5 separate regions of the Homo sapiens genome follow, and regions 1, 3, 4 and 5 are each linked to region 2. Evidence: promoter capture Hi-C in 16 types of primary human blood cells and fetal thymus (Javierre and others, 2016). All regions are on one chromosome and are shown on one strand. The core of a region is centred on a gene start or on the middle of the fragment in contact, and the rest is flanking DNA. Distances in the headings are between cores, read along the strand shown.

What was found. Contacts are between HindIII fragments. The CHiCAGO score rates a contact against its expected background, and 5 or more counts as called.
Region 1: the fragment with the promoter of BIRC3 here is called in contact with the fragment with the promoter of CWF19L2 in region 2 in 3 of 17 cell types (activated CD4 T cells, total CD8 T cells and naive CD4 T cells); the score reaches 6.6 in activated CD4 T cells.
Region 3: a contact is called between the fragment with the promoter of ANGPTL5 here and the fragment with the promoter of CWF19L2 in region 2, in 3 of 17 cell types (total CD4 T cells, total CD8 T cells and naive CD8 T cells). The highest score is 6.9, in total CD4 T cells.
Region 4: the fragment with the promoter of C11orf71 here is called in contact with the fragment with the promoter of CWF19L2 in region 2 in 2 of 17 cell types (fetal thymus and activated CD4 T cells); the score reaches 9.2 in fetal thymus.
Region 5: a fragment that was not itself captured here is called in contact with the fragment with the promoter of CWF19L2 in region 2 in 1 of 17 cell types (naive CD8 T cells); the score reaches 6.1 in naive CD8 T cells.

What each region holds. Positions count from the first base shown.
Region 1 is chr11:102,316,087-102,318,786 of GRCh38, reverse strand. It overlaps BIRC3 (baculoviral IAP repeat containing 3), which reads right to left and starts at 1,303. Exons shown (of 9, transcript NM_001165.5): 1 at 1,216-1,303. It overlaps LOC124902739 (a long non-coding RNA gene), which reads left to right and starts at 1,544. Exons shown (of 2, transcript XR_007062864.1): 1 at 1,544-1,701; 2 at 2,215-2,700. RefSeq lists enhancers at 2-51, 312-511, 1,313-1,672, 1,683-1,752, 657-1,856. The HindIII fragment of the contact is 7,438 bases long and covers 1-2,700 here.
Region 2 is chr11:107,456,461-107,459,160 of GRCh38, reverse strand. CWF19L2 (CWF19 like cell cycle control factor 2) reads left to right here and starts at 1,336. Exons shown (of 18, transcript NM_152434.3): 1 at 1,336-1,449. The coding sequence starts at 1,345. RefSeq lists an enhancer at 1,052-1,557. The HindIII fragment of the contact is 1,493 bases long and covers 568-2,060 here.
Region 3 is chr11:101,915,272-101,917,971 of GRCh38, reverse strand. ANGPTL5 (angiopoietin like 5) reads left to right here and starts at 1,450. Exons shown (of 9, transcript NM_178127.5): 1 at 1,450-1,953. CEP126 (centrosomal protein 126) reads right to left here. Exons shown (of 11, transcript NM_020802.4): 1 at 2,560-2,700. The coding sequence starts at 2,687. The HindIII fragment of the contact is 9,032 bases long and covers 1-2,700 here.
Region 4 is chr11:114,399,094-114,401,793 of GRCh38, reverse strand. It overlaps C11orf71 (chromosome 11 open reading frame 71), which reads left to right and starts at 1,283. Exons shown (of 1, transcript NM_001271562.2): 1 at 1,283-2,700. The coding sequence starts at 1,463. The coding sequence ends at 1,834. It overlaps RBM7 (RNA binding motif protein 7), which reads right to left and starts at 1,128. Exons shown (of 5, transcript NM_001286045.2): 1 at 1,027-1,128; 2 at 1-96. The coding sequence starts at 1,122. RefSeq lists enhancers at 956-1,498, 1,396-1,785, 1,499-2,041. The HindIII fragment of the contact is 8,162 bases long and covers 1-2,700 here.
Region 5 is chr11:113,314,532-113,317,231 of GRCh38, reverse strand. It overlaps TTC12 (tetratricopeptide repeat domain 12), which reads right to left and starts at 2,649. Exons shown (of 22, transcript NM_017868.4): 1 at 2,614-2,649; 2 at 917-989. The coding sequence starts at 974. RefSeq lists silencers at 2,279-2,378, 2,271-2,565, 2,589-2,700. The HindIII fragment of the contact is 180 bases long and covers 1,203-1,382 here.

The DNA.
Region 1 (2,700 bases), core at 54-2,553, 5.1 Mb after region 2:
GATACCAAGCTCTTGGGATTCTTCTTTCATTTCTAGTGGTTCCTTCTCAGATTGGCTCAGTCCCCAGCCTCTCCTCTTCTGACTCATTCATTTAACCTACCAAGAAGGCAACCTCCCCAGTCCCAGGGCTGTTGGGCATCCCTACCCTTTGGGCATGCAGCACATCCATTTTTCTGACACTGGAGGGCAAGTGTGCCTTTTCTTTCTGCCTCCCGCTAGACAGTAAGCTCTTTTAGAATGGCAACTATTAATATGTTTCATCTCTGTACCTGCCCTCCCACTCATAGCATCTGCAGAGCTTGGTATATGGGGTAGACACGAAGACTTCCCGTTGAAGAAGTAAATGACTGAGACCTGAGTGACCACAGTACTTCTATCAATTTTATATTAATGACCACAGAGTCAGCTCAGTGATTGATTAGTATCAGGCTTTGGAGTCAGACATCGGGGGTGCCCAATACCAAGCAGTCCGGTAACCAGAAGCATGACCTTGCACAAGTAAATCTCCAAGAGCCTCAGTTTCCTCATTGTCAAATGGAGATAATTATGGTACCTGCTTCTTAAGATTATGATAATTAAACGTGAAAAATACATGTAAAGTCTTCAGAGACAAACCTAGCACATAGCAGGTAGCAGTACTTAATGTTAGCAATAAATAATAGCAAATAAAGTCAATATTTAATATTATTGTTACGTTAGCATCAGGTACATGCCTTCGACAATGTATTGATCAGAGTAAGAGCACTACTAGGTTTCCATGCTGATCACCAGGAAGACAACCAAAAACTGCTGTCTTCCTACCACCGCTTGGAAACATGCGTCCATTTGCTCATTAAACGTTTTACTTCCTTCCTGTGCCAGAGCTCTGCCTTAGGCTCTGTCCTGAAATTTATTTGGCACCTGCAAAGGCCCAGTGATAACTCTTGGCAACCGAATCAAAATGCCACAACTTCACAATTCCACTGGCTCACTCCAAACGTGAAATAGAAATTGAGCACCTGGAACCTATCTAGAGCCTGCTTTTGGGCCCTGGTGTTTGATAACTGCGCCCCACCCACTGACTCTCAACCTCTGCAGCGCCCCGGGCTCTAGCCCTAAGCGCCCCTCGGCCAGCCGCTGGCACATCTCTTACACCAGGGGAGGCGCGCGCGCGCGCACACATACACACACACACACGCACACACACACACACACACACCAGCCTTCCTTGCCCACCTGCTGCCCAGAGGCCGACGACGCATGCACCAGCAAGGACAAGCCCAGTCTTTTCAAGCGACACCTGTCGCCTGGCCTTTTCCGTGCCGGAGGGCGCGAGTCTCACGCTGTCTTTTAAATGCGTCACCCAAATCCCCACCCCTATCTGTACCAGGCGTTCCGCACTCCTCCCAGTGGTTTGCATGTGCACTGGTGCTTTCCTTTTAGGACTTAGGGGAACTCCAGCGGTAATAACCACACACACTTCCTCTTAATCAGTGGCCTGGCAAACCCACTCGGGGATTTCCATGACCCAAAAGCATGACTCTTAACCGTGGCATATCTTCGCGGCATTTACTGAAAGACATTTGCTTCATTGCTCGTGGGTCAGAGGAAATCTTGATAACAACCCATATAGAGAGGACGATCATTGCTTAGCCTGCCTGGAAAAGGTCAATATGCCCTGTTCTCCACCCTCCATCCGCCATACACTTTACACGTAAAAAGGTTAGGTTTTTCAATCTTCTACTATAGCTGCAGAAGTCCAGCATTTAAAAAAAAAAAAATCGAAACTTTGTGAAATATTTCTATTTATTTTTACTTTTTGTTCTGATCAAGAAAGTAAGAGGTGAAAGGAAATGTAGGGGTATGTGAAAAAAATCATGCAGTTCTCCTTTGCAGTTTATTTTACCATTTTAAAGATTGAAATGGCTTGGTAAATTTTCTGTATGGAAATACTTTTGTTTGGTTTGGTGAGTTGTTTTTTTTTTTTTTTTAATAAGTAGGGTGGAGTTGGCTACTTAAAAAAATCCCTCCTTTATAGCCTTTGATCTCACAGGGCAGGTTTCTGAGTTGCAGTGCCATTCTCAGGGAAACCTGACATCTTTGAGTCTAATTGCACTGCCATATTTCCCTCAACGTTCTCTAAGCAGTAAATTTAAGCAACTTTATCTGAGAGCCATCCGTACCAGGGTAACAGATGGATTTGGAGAGCTCATCTGATTTTCTATCTTCCAGTAGATCAAAGACAATTACCAACCAGAGACAGAGCCCATAAAGATTATTGGAGACTTCATCGTTCTGTGGAAACAGCATCCAGTGCATTCTGCACGCAATTGGACTGAGCTGAGGCATCCTCTTGTTTAGGTGGACTTGGCTGTCCATAGCAGCTGAAGTTCCAGTTGGAATTATTTCAGAAAGACTAAGTGTATTTATCATATGGAGATTTTAATCCACATTTGAGTCTGCTTCAATCAAGACTTTCTAAGCCATTTTCAACTCACTCCTGAGATTATTGAAAATAATTTGCAGGCCTTACACATTTTTGATTATGTACTCACCAGAAGAATTTTGAAAAGCTCTGCATTCCCTTGCCCATTTTTAACTTAACATTAAAACATAAAGCTCTTGTACATGTCAAGAATCTACAAAATGTAAACATAGATATTTTCAGAAAAAATTGATAGAGCACTCTTTTAAATGTATTTGATGGATCCTAATACCATA
Region 2 (2,700 bases), core at 87-2,586:
ACCAGGACACACCTTCACTAGACAGCAAATAGCCCAACACCTTGATTTTATCCAGCCTCCAGAACTGTAAGACATACTTGTTTGTTATTTATAAGCCATCCATTCTATAATATTTTGTTATAGCAGCCTGAACTGATTAAAACACACACGTTTCTAATATAATCACAGTTTATTTTTATTGAATTGATGCAAAACAGTGAAATGGATGTTTTTCTGAATTCCAAGAGAATCTGAAAAGACGTTGATGCTAGTTATGACAAATATCAGTCAATGTAGTCAGTTGATTAAATATTACAAGGTCGATTAGTAAATTACATTTTAAAATAAAATGAATACTTTCTATTGCATATCAAACAAGTAGGCATTGTGTGTTCAAGATTCAGACTCATAGAATGGTAGTGAATGTAAAAACTCTTGGAAAGCTTCTTGCAAACACACATTAAATTTTATGAAACCTGAAGAGAAAGAGTATTTACCTCAACCTGGCTTATGTTACTTATTTTTAGCGTCTTTAAGGTATCGTTTATAATTAATTCCCCAGCCTTCTTCTTCTTGTAAATGTAAGCTTAGTGTCTTATGTTCTCAAAGCACTTCATCACCTTAGAATGTCTTATTCTTCTGAACTTAAAAGTTTTATGTTTGGGCGATACATGCGTAAAACAAAACAAAGAAATCTCCGCAGAAATAAATAAGTAACTGTCCATTGTAATGAAAAATGCTTGGATGGATAAGTATGAGTAAATAATATGGGGTCAGAGGAAAAAATATAATGTAAACTTCTAACAAGTTAAGCACGGGTAAATTGTGAAGTGCAATGCAAAATTCACATGAGTGTTTCATATATTAAGTAAAATCCACCAAAACAAAACACTGAATCTTCAAGGCAATTCTGTCCTTCCTGCCAGCTGCCACTACCTTTCTGGCAGCCTCCCTTTATCCCATTCCTCCAGCACAGGGAAATGATGCTCTGGCGACAAAGGGTACTTCCGCAGAAAACTTTTGAGAGGTACCAACTTAACTTCCAAGAGCTTGTAACTTACTCCGGTGATTTTAAGACGAAATTGGTGAGAAAGCTGTTAATATAGTAAAAAGTGCATAATAAATATATACGGGTATTAATCCTGCTCACAATCGCACCCAACACCTGAAAGAATTAAACCCTCCAACACCCTTCGGGTCTTTAAAATCTGGGCTGCGGTAATCCGAGCCCTAAGCGACCTCAGATGTGCGCATGCCCTGTTGGTGGAGCCGTGCTCCTCCTTCCTCGGGTCCGGAAGTCCCGGTTTGTTTGTTAAATTACGACCGTCGTAAACTAGAATTTTCTTGCGGCTTCTTAGCTTTACGATGGCAACAAGTATGGCGGCTGCTAGTGGTAGATTTGAAAGTGCGAAGAGTATCGAAGAGCGGAAAGAACAGACCCGGAATGCCAGGGCCGAGGTGTTGCGCCAGGTACCTCTGTTTTGGGGCTTTTGTAGTTATTTATTGTTGTGGGAGTTGAGGGTTCCCGTAAGCTAGCCCACTCACCCCTTCCCTTACCTCGTCAGTACTGAATCTCACCTTAATTTGGGTGAGTTCTCCCTTTGCAATGCCGGTAAACCCTTTTGTAGCTACCGATTTTTTAGATGTTCTGGCAGGTGCCAGTTGCTAATTCTCTTTTCAGGCAGATCTGTCGCTTTTTCTCCAAGTTTCTTTACCTTTTAAGTTACCCATTCTTTACATTTCTATCACTCGGACTGCACACTTTGTAGGTCCCCTGCGGCTTGTAAGGACTCTGCCAGCATGTCTCGCAGCCTCAGTCATTGCTACTGCTGTATCTGAAATGAGATTTTCCTTTTTCGGAAACACATTCAAGTCACACTTGAATAGACTCAGTTTGACATTTCCTCCTCCTGTCTCTATTGGTATCAATTCCAGACTTACTGTAAGCTCTTACCAATCCAAACAAAAGTTAACACCAATCTCAGTATATTTAGCCTGTCACAAAAGATCGCGAAACATTGTATTTCTCACTAAACTTCAGATACATAGAGGTAACATACAAAGAATGGAGAAAGTAAGCTTCTGAATTATCTGACAATCTATTCAATATGTAAGAAGTGTGGCAATGAAAGAGAAAAGTTGCAGTTGGAGAGCAACAGAGAATTCAGTGAGGGTTTTTGTTTTTATTTAAGTTGGAAGAGTTTTAAACAAGTTTAAATGCAAATGAGAAGGAGCCAGCAGAGAAGAGGGAGAGGAGACTCTAAAGGGAAAATGACATAGTTTCAAAATTTGGCAAATAATTTGAGGGTGAAGCAGCCCCATTCTCCTTTAATCTCCAATTTTCTCACCCTGTTCTTTGGAGTCCATCATAAGCCCTGCTCTTTTCTCTGATATCGATTTTTCTGTTTGGTATATAACCATTGTATTCATCTTCTTGCCTACACCAAGAATTATTATATGCACCCAGGGAAAAGCTAGCTGCAGAATGTTGGACTACCTCTCCATGATTTTCCCTTTTCTGGAATATTAACTCTTCTAGTTCTTGTTGCTTCAGCAGTTCTCTGATATAAACCTTTAATAAATTATTTTTATATTTGATTAAAAAAAAAAAGAAAATGACTACAGCCAGGTTTTAAAGGGGAAGAGTGGGCGATTAGTCTTGGGTAGGTGAAATGTTGGTATTGTTTCGTAATTTCAACATATGTAATGTGTGTGTGTGGG
Region 3 (2,700 bases), core at 201-2,700, 5.5 Mb after region 2:
ATTCATAGGAAAAAGAAAGAACCCTGTTCCTGTTTAGGTGAAGCTGGAAACCATCAATCTTTAGTGGTACAATCTGTATTGTTTTGTGATTTTTCTTTGACAGCATTTTTATTATTCGCATGAAGGAGTAAAGGAGCAGGACTATAGTAGTTATTGAGTGGCTGAGGCAGAATGATTGGGGTACAAATAGCCAAAGATGTTGGTGAGAGAAAGTTCAAATAGTTAAGAATAGGGTATAAACTGGAGAGGAAAGGAGAGGCAAGGTGGGTGCTAGGATAAAATGGGAGGGTTGAAGGGTAGAGATATTTATGAGGAAAAAAAGGCAGGTATAAGGGGACATGAGAGACCTTCCTTTTTTTTTTTTTTTTAAATTCCATTTCTATTTGAACTCTCAAAAGAGAAAAAGAGATTGAAATGACAGAACTTTAGCTAATTTTAATTAAATAAACTTCATAAGGTTTTGTTGTTTTATAACCTTTAGAGTCAGAAAATTCTGACTCCAGTGAGAAAATGTCTTCAACAGAAAGCCAGATGGCCTCTGAGTATCATGTTCATATTTGAAATTGAAATGTAAATGTTACCACATACTTGCTTATTTTAAGGCTGTGGTCCTTTCATTTGCTTTCTTTCCTTTTTTTCATTTAGTCATGTAAATTTGAGCACCTACTCTGTGCTAGGTATCCAATGGGAAACATTATAGACACAAAGAACATTCCAATTAAACTTATATAAAAGGTACTTTAGTGTTTTTCCAGCTAGCAAACATAATGTTCTTGATTTAGTGTTATAATCTTTATTATGTTCAAAAATAATTCCTCTGTTCCAATTTAAATATATATTATCTAAACATATATATACACACATATGCAAACTAGCAAAAATATATATAAACCAGCACACACACACACACACACACACACACACACACACACACACACACACATTGTTGGATTTTATCAAAGTCTATTGGTCATCTATTAAAATGTTCATTTATAACTTGCCTAATTTTAACTATATATTTAGCCTTTAAGGATCTTTTTTAGTGTTGTATTTCTTTATAGGAAATGTCATTCTAATTCTGGAATAGAGTCTATTTGGTTGTGTTCATTCAAAGTATTGCTGGATTCTATTTATGAATATTTTCTTTGGCATTTGTATCAAAAATTTATACCACATAAAATTTAAAAAATGAGGCCTACAACCATTTTATTAATGAAAATAACAGAAAATACACTCTCAATGAGCCATTTACAATACTTCCCTATTTTCTGATTTAGAGATAAATCAGGGTCGTGTAATAGCAGTTGTGTCCAAGAAAATATAATGTCAAGAGGCCAGAATTAAATCCATACAGAAAATGATTGTGTTCATTTCAGAGTAACCTTTAAGAGGGCAATTTTGGGGAGCAGCAAGGGCAAAAGCCAAACTGAATGGGGTTAATAATGAATAGATGAGAGGAACTAGAAGCAGCTATTGCAAGCTACCATTTTGAGAACCTGCCCAAAGAAAGAAAAGACTGAAGGGATGGAAGATTGCAGAAAGCATGATCGGAGAAGAGATATTTTACTTTTAGTGAAGCTCTATACACATTTGTCTTCCTCACTAGATTTGTATCCCTAGAACCTAGAACAGAGTCAGCCAAAGAGCAGGCACTCAATACAAATTGTTGACTTGCTGCTAAAATTGTAACAGAGTACAAAGAACATCCTAGAAATTGGAGACAAAGGGGATAAGAAAACAGAGTTAACTTGGAAAGAGAAGACACTCATCTCTGACAAGACTGAAGATGATTACACAACACCATCATTGCCAACCAAGTCCTTTGGGAATACAAAGGTTAAATCCTAATCATCACAACAGTCTCTAAAGGAATAAACCTGATTTACAGATTTTGATAACAAAATACTTCTCCTCTTTCCATTTTCTACAATGCAACCAACAGCAACATCAAAGGTAGGCTTAACCAACTCTTCGAGAAAAGTCAGAGTTAATCCAGATTGTAAAGCGTCCAGGTCCCCTGTTTCTCATTTCCTCTTTTCTGTCGCTCTGACAACAGACTGGGCAGAGATGGAAAACAAAACAACTTACCAAACTGTGTAGCCTTTAGCAGCTCTGGTAAATGCATTTAGGGCTGTGTTAGGATAACTGTTAAAACGGACTCTTTAGGATAGCAAAACATTTTACTTATTTGTGTAATTTCTCTCTCCAAGTAGTACGATAAATCAGGAAGTAGTTAATATGTAAGTAAAGAACATAATGGCATAAAAATATCCCCACAGAATACACAGTTGATGTGTTTTAAAATTCACAAAAATTTTACAAAGTTGAAGAATGGGAGTAGGATAACAGGGTGATGGGGGGAAGCAGCCACAGAATTAGATAAAATGGTATAATTTCAGGTCTAAGGTGAGACACGACAGTTGCTAAAGGAAATATCTGCACTAAGATGACTTGCTAGTTTTGATCACCCTGCGTCAAAGGTAATGGGAATCTAATTGGAAAAAGATGGGCCCCGTTTTCAACATCGCTACCCTGGCAGCCACAGGCTGGGAAGGATACAGGTAAGAGCCAGGTCGGTGATGCCCGCCGCTCTCCCGAGGGCCGAGGGGGGCTCTGTCGAGGTTGTCCGATGATTCAGTGCCCAGTTCCCCGACCGCGCTCCGGGTTCCGGGCCTCCCCGCCAGCATCCTTCACTTCAGC
Region 4 (2,700 bases), core at 34-2,533, 6.9 Mb before region 2:
AGGAACAGACACTTCATGTTTGAAATTCACAAACGCAAACTGCTTTGGTTTACCATCCTTATCTTTTGGAATTTTCACCTTTATTACTGGCCCAGCCTACAAACAAAAAGGTGTTTAGAATTTAAATAAAGCAACTAAGGGAAAATACTCAAATTTTACAAATAAGATATGACAAAGTTTAAAAACAACAGAAACGTAATCAGAAACTTCTTTTGAAAATGATGCACGGATTTCCATTTTGGCTACAGTAAACATCCTAGTTATGACTGAACATTAGATTTATTTGGGGAAGGGGGCCCATAAGGAACTGGAAACACAATCACTTTTGCAATTCACAGCACTGTATGGCTTAACATAGTGACCAATCGCCATTATTTTGCCACTCCATGAAAATGAACATTTATCAAGAACAAGAGAATGATTTTCTTTAACTAAAAACGGACTTTTGTATTGATTAATCAAACAATACCAGTTATTAGGGGATAGGGATGGGGGGAATAGGATACTCAGAATTTTTCACACTTTTTAATACAGCAACACTAAAATGCTGTTTTTCTACGGAGTACTTAACCATTTTATTTTACATATTTTAATAATGCTGCAATTTGATAAGCAAACTTTAGGGGAAAACAGACACAAATAAATTAAAATATTAAGTTCCCAGTCAGATAAACCAAAGACAAATTATCCTAAGGGGAAGATGACAACAGGAAGGATAAGAAAAAGCACTGCTCAACGAAGACCCTACACACACACTGTGTTCCCAAGGACCCCTGGATCTCTACCACGGGAAACCTGATCGAGGATCCCTCCACCACCTTTAGTCGTCACTTTCGGCCTAAACGAACCAAGATCTTCCAGGAAAGCGACACCCAGCGAGCGTTTCGCAACCCAGACCCGCCTTTCACCCCCAAACAGCCACCCGTCGGGTCCCCTGACGGCTACGAAAAGAAAACGGGGTGGCCGCTGGCCAGGCCCTAGGCGAGACGGAAAACGAAAGGCAAAGGGCCGAACCCAGCCGCTTACCTGGTGGAAAAGCTCGAAAAGGAGCTCCTCGGTCACTTTCGTTTCAAGGTTGCCCACAAAGAGAGTGCGATCCGCTTCCGCCGCCGCCGCCCCCATCTCAGCGTCGCCCCCTCCCTAACCTGGCCAAAAGGTCGTGGCCGACGCACCCACTGCGCATTCACGGAAGCCCCACGTCCTCACGCTCCCTGGCGTCACAAACGAAAACGCCCGTTGCGCTTGCTCTCAGCGGGCGACGACGTGCGCGGACGGTCTGCGCATGCTCGCCAGGATACCCCTCGTTAAAGGCAAGGCGGCTTCTGGCTCTTCCGCAGGCTCAGTTATGGGTTCCTGTGTGCTTAGTCATCGGGTCCGACACAGGCTGGACTGATCTGGGGAGCCGCGAAGGGCCTGCCTTCACAAAGGGACGTAACGCAAGTACTGCGGGCAGTGTTTGAATATGGCCCTGAACAATGTGTCCCTGTCCTCCGGTGATCAGAGGAGCAGGGTGGCCTACCGCTCTTCCCATGGCGACCTCAGACCGCGGGCGTCAGCGTTGGCGATGGTCTCCGGAGACGGCTTCCTCGTTTCCAGGCCTGAAGCGATTCATCTAGGACCTCGGCAGGCGGTGCGACCAAGCGTTCGGGCCGAGAGCCGTCGAGTGGATGGTGGCGGCCGGAGCCCAAGGGAACCAGATGGCCGGGGCCGGAGCCGCCAAGCCAGATTCTCACCTTACCCAATCCCTGCCGTTGAACCCGATCTCCTAAGAAGTGTGCTGCAACAGCGTTTGATTGCATTAGGAGGTGTTATCGCAGCTCGAATTTCAGTTTAAACGAACACCTTTCCTCTGGCCCTCACTTAGCTTGTGAACAGGCCTTTTTAAAATCCTTTCTTGGTGTAGCAGCAATCGTGTTGTTTTATTTTTAGATGGATGTATTTTCATTTAATACGTGGGAGTTATATGAATATGTCCTAGCACTAAGGGAAGTGTAACAGTTGATTGATTTAGGTGGTTTTATGCAGCCAGAACGATTGGATCAGGAAAGGTGTGGAAGGGATATTCTTAGGTCGTCACAAAGCTGAGCTGATGGGAGCACCCTCCCCAGAGGTCAACAATCCATTCGTTAACTCAGACACTTAACCTTTACCTTTACTTCTGTTGGCGAAAAAGAAGTGCTCCTTTTTATTACACTGATTTATCCTTCCATCTTTTCCTTGGCATTTACCATCTTCCATCTCCCCCTTCACTTTTTTCAGATATGTCTACAAACAGACTCCAATCTCAGTCGCACTAAAAATAAGAACAAAACCTAAACCTTACAGTTCTTTCAAATTATTAAATCAATTTATTATTCCTTTCTTTGGCAAAGGTTCCAAATTTTTACTTTATATTTGTAATTTTACTATTTGCATTCAGTCCCAGCGCATTAATCTGAATCTGCTGTCCTAAAATACACTGGTGAAAACATTACTTGTACAATCTCCTATCAGAAAACTGTTCATCTACTCACTGTAGTGCCCTCCTTGAAATGTGTGTTTGTTCATTCAACTAACAATATTTGGGGATCCCTGTAGTAAACACTGTATGAATTTTACACAGTCTGGCCATCAAGAAAGATCACGGAGTATATTCTAGATGGGGAGGCTACTAAGTGAATAGGAATCACCACGCTGGGCTGTTTATTAGGTACAGTAATA
Region 5 (2,700 bases), core at 43-2,542, 5.9 Mb before region 2:
ACCATAGAGGCAGAGGCTCAGAAAAGAAGGCTAAGTGTCCATGTAGATGTGGGGGTCATGAACAAACAGGTGGCAGGTAAAGCTACATGTTTAGACCAGCTGAAGAGAAAGGTGGCAGTGGGCCAAGGCCAGAGCTCCATGGAACAGCATTCAGGGATAAGCATTATTCATGTATCATTTACGATGTCACCCAAGCTAGCTTTAAAACCACTTTATTCCTTGAACCCATACAATCTGCTACAAGCAGCAATTTCAGCATATTGCCTGTATTTACTATGTAAGGTCTGTTTGCTTGTTGGTTTGTTTGTTTCTATACTCAAGCAAGCTCCCTGAACAGGGACTGACAGGTTTGGAAATTCCTGAATGTGATCTGTGGGATCAGAGTACATTTCTTTGAGATCCAACCTGCCTGAACTTGGGAAAGGACTTTCTTGTCTAGAGAGAGAGAAGGGAATGATGATCATAAACCATCCATGTAATTTGATGGATCCTAAAGGAAAGCCATTTGATTTTGCCTCTGCAGCTCTAAAACAGAAATGGCTCTACTCTAAAACGGGAGGAATCTCACACTGATCAATGAGGTTCTTGACCCTTGAAGGGAACAGCTGGGTTCATTGTCAATGGGGAAACAGCAGCTGGTTTTGACTGGATTCCACATAGAAGGATACAAAATATGGAAGAAAACCGTCAGCCTGAATTCCTATCAGAATGTTAACAGTTTCTCTGATACCAATTAACAGCCAGAAAATACAGCCCTGAGGCTATAACTTGTTTCTCAATACCCTTCTCTTTAATTTCAATTACATTTTTTTCCTAAGAGTTATAAACCTGTCAAGCCACCCAGGAACTTAGAGCAATCATTTATCTACTCCACTTCTCTAAAGCAGAAATTAATTTATGATTTACTAGTACTTACAGATTTCATCCACATTTTTAAGAAATTTCTGCAAATCTTTCTCTTTATCAGCATCCATTGTGAACCGGAATCCCTAAGGGATGCAGCATAATGGTGAAATTAATAATAATAAAGCACTAAACAGAACGGTCAGGCTTATTAGCCTTCTAAAACTAAGAGCCAAGTGATTATTTTTATGACAGTTTTGTTTATGTCAATGAATAACAGCAGGGTGATCCCTTTCATTCCAACTGCTGTTTTAGGCCAAGAGGCACTCATTTACGTGCGGCAATGCTTCCAGAAAGCTTCCAGCCCTCCTTCCAGTGCAGAAAACGCTCTGCAAATAGTTCTTCCAAAGCCAACATCAACCCCGGCGATTTAGGGACCTGGCATGGAGATGAGAAGAGAGCAGATGACAGGTTGCCAAGGATAGAGAAATACACTAACACCTGACTTTGATCATGACAGGCTGGTCTAGTCAGAAGCTTAAATGTGGATGTGTGACAGGTAACAAACTTGGGGCAATTTGCATCTAAATGTCCATACTTGTTTAAAATCTGCCTTTGGCTTGTTTCTGAAGAGTGAAGAAAGGGTACAAATTGACTGAAGGGATTAGAACATAATGTTACCATGCTCACCAGCGTCTCTTCTGCTCTAGGTACCTCAGATATTATTTTACAGTTGTTTTTGTGCGAGAAGGCCCCGTGGTGTACCCAGCAGTACTCAGTGGTTCATCCACAGATCATAAAAATCATCGGGAAGATTGTTAAATATACAGCTTCCTCAGCCGTAGCCCGAGATTTCAAGTCAGTAAACCCGGGACATTGCCCAGACACGAATATAGATTTTAAACACTTTCCAGGTGATTCTCATTTATGGCCAGGTTTCATAGTAGTGTAACACGCTTCTAACACGTAATCTGCCACGAACAAACTACGAGTGATTTAATCGAGTCTCAGTGTCCTCATCTCCACCAGTTACAAGCTGTGTGATTCTGGCTAAATTCACAACCTCTCCGAGCCTCAGAGTCCTCACCCATACTATGGGAACAGTAAGAGAGAAACTACGAGGACTATTCTGGGGACTGATGTAAAGCACCAGGCACGCGACGAGTCCTCACCGTGAAGCACCCTTACCTATATAAAACAGGGGGTGGGGTTGCGGCTTAACTGAATAATCGCTAGGGTTTCTTCCAGGTCAAATCTTTTCAACTCCCACGGAACAGAGGCCTAGTCCAGTGAATTAATCTGCCCAACGGTATGAAGGTTAGAAGGCAGGCGCGCGGGTGCATGGACAGGAGACAACCTCTGTCTCCCAGGGCATGGATCTCAGGGTCCTCACTGCCTGGCCAGTGCCCCCCTACGCTAGGGTGAGAGGGCCAGAGCCAGGTGATGGCGAAGCGGCGCCGCGCTCAGTGCTTCACTCGGTAGGGCTGCGGCAGCGGGGACCTGTGCCCGAGCCCCGCGCGGAGCCTGCCCCAGACGCGCGCTGCCCGCCGGGCGCAAAGAGGCCAGGCCGCACGCACTGTTGCCCAGCAACCGCTCCCAGGCGTCCGCAAGTCCCGGGCCCTCCATGCAGGTCCCAGACCGCAGCCGTCCCAGACCGCAGCCAAGACCTTCCCATGCTCTGGGGCCCAAAGCAGCGTCCTCTGCTCGGCTCTGAAGGCCAGTGCAGGACCAGCTCCCAGGGGGGATTCCGGGGTACCCCGCGGCACCGACCTGATTCGCCCAGCTTTGGACAGGAAATGGCGCAGTGACCTGCCTGGGCTGGGGCGGGGCCAGGAGCCAGGGGCCCGGGGCGGGACC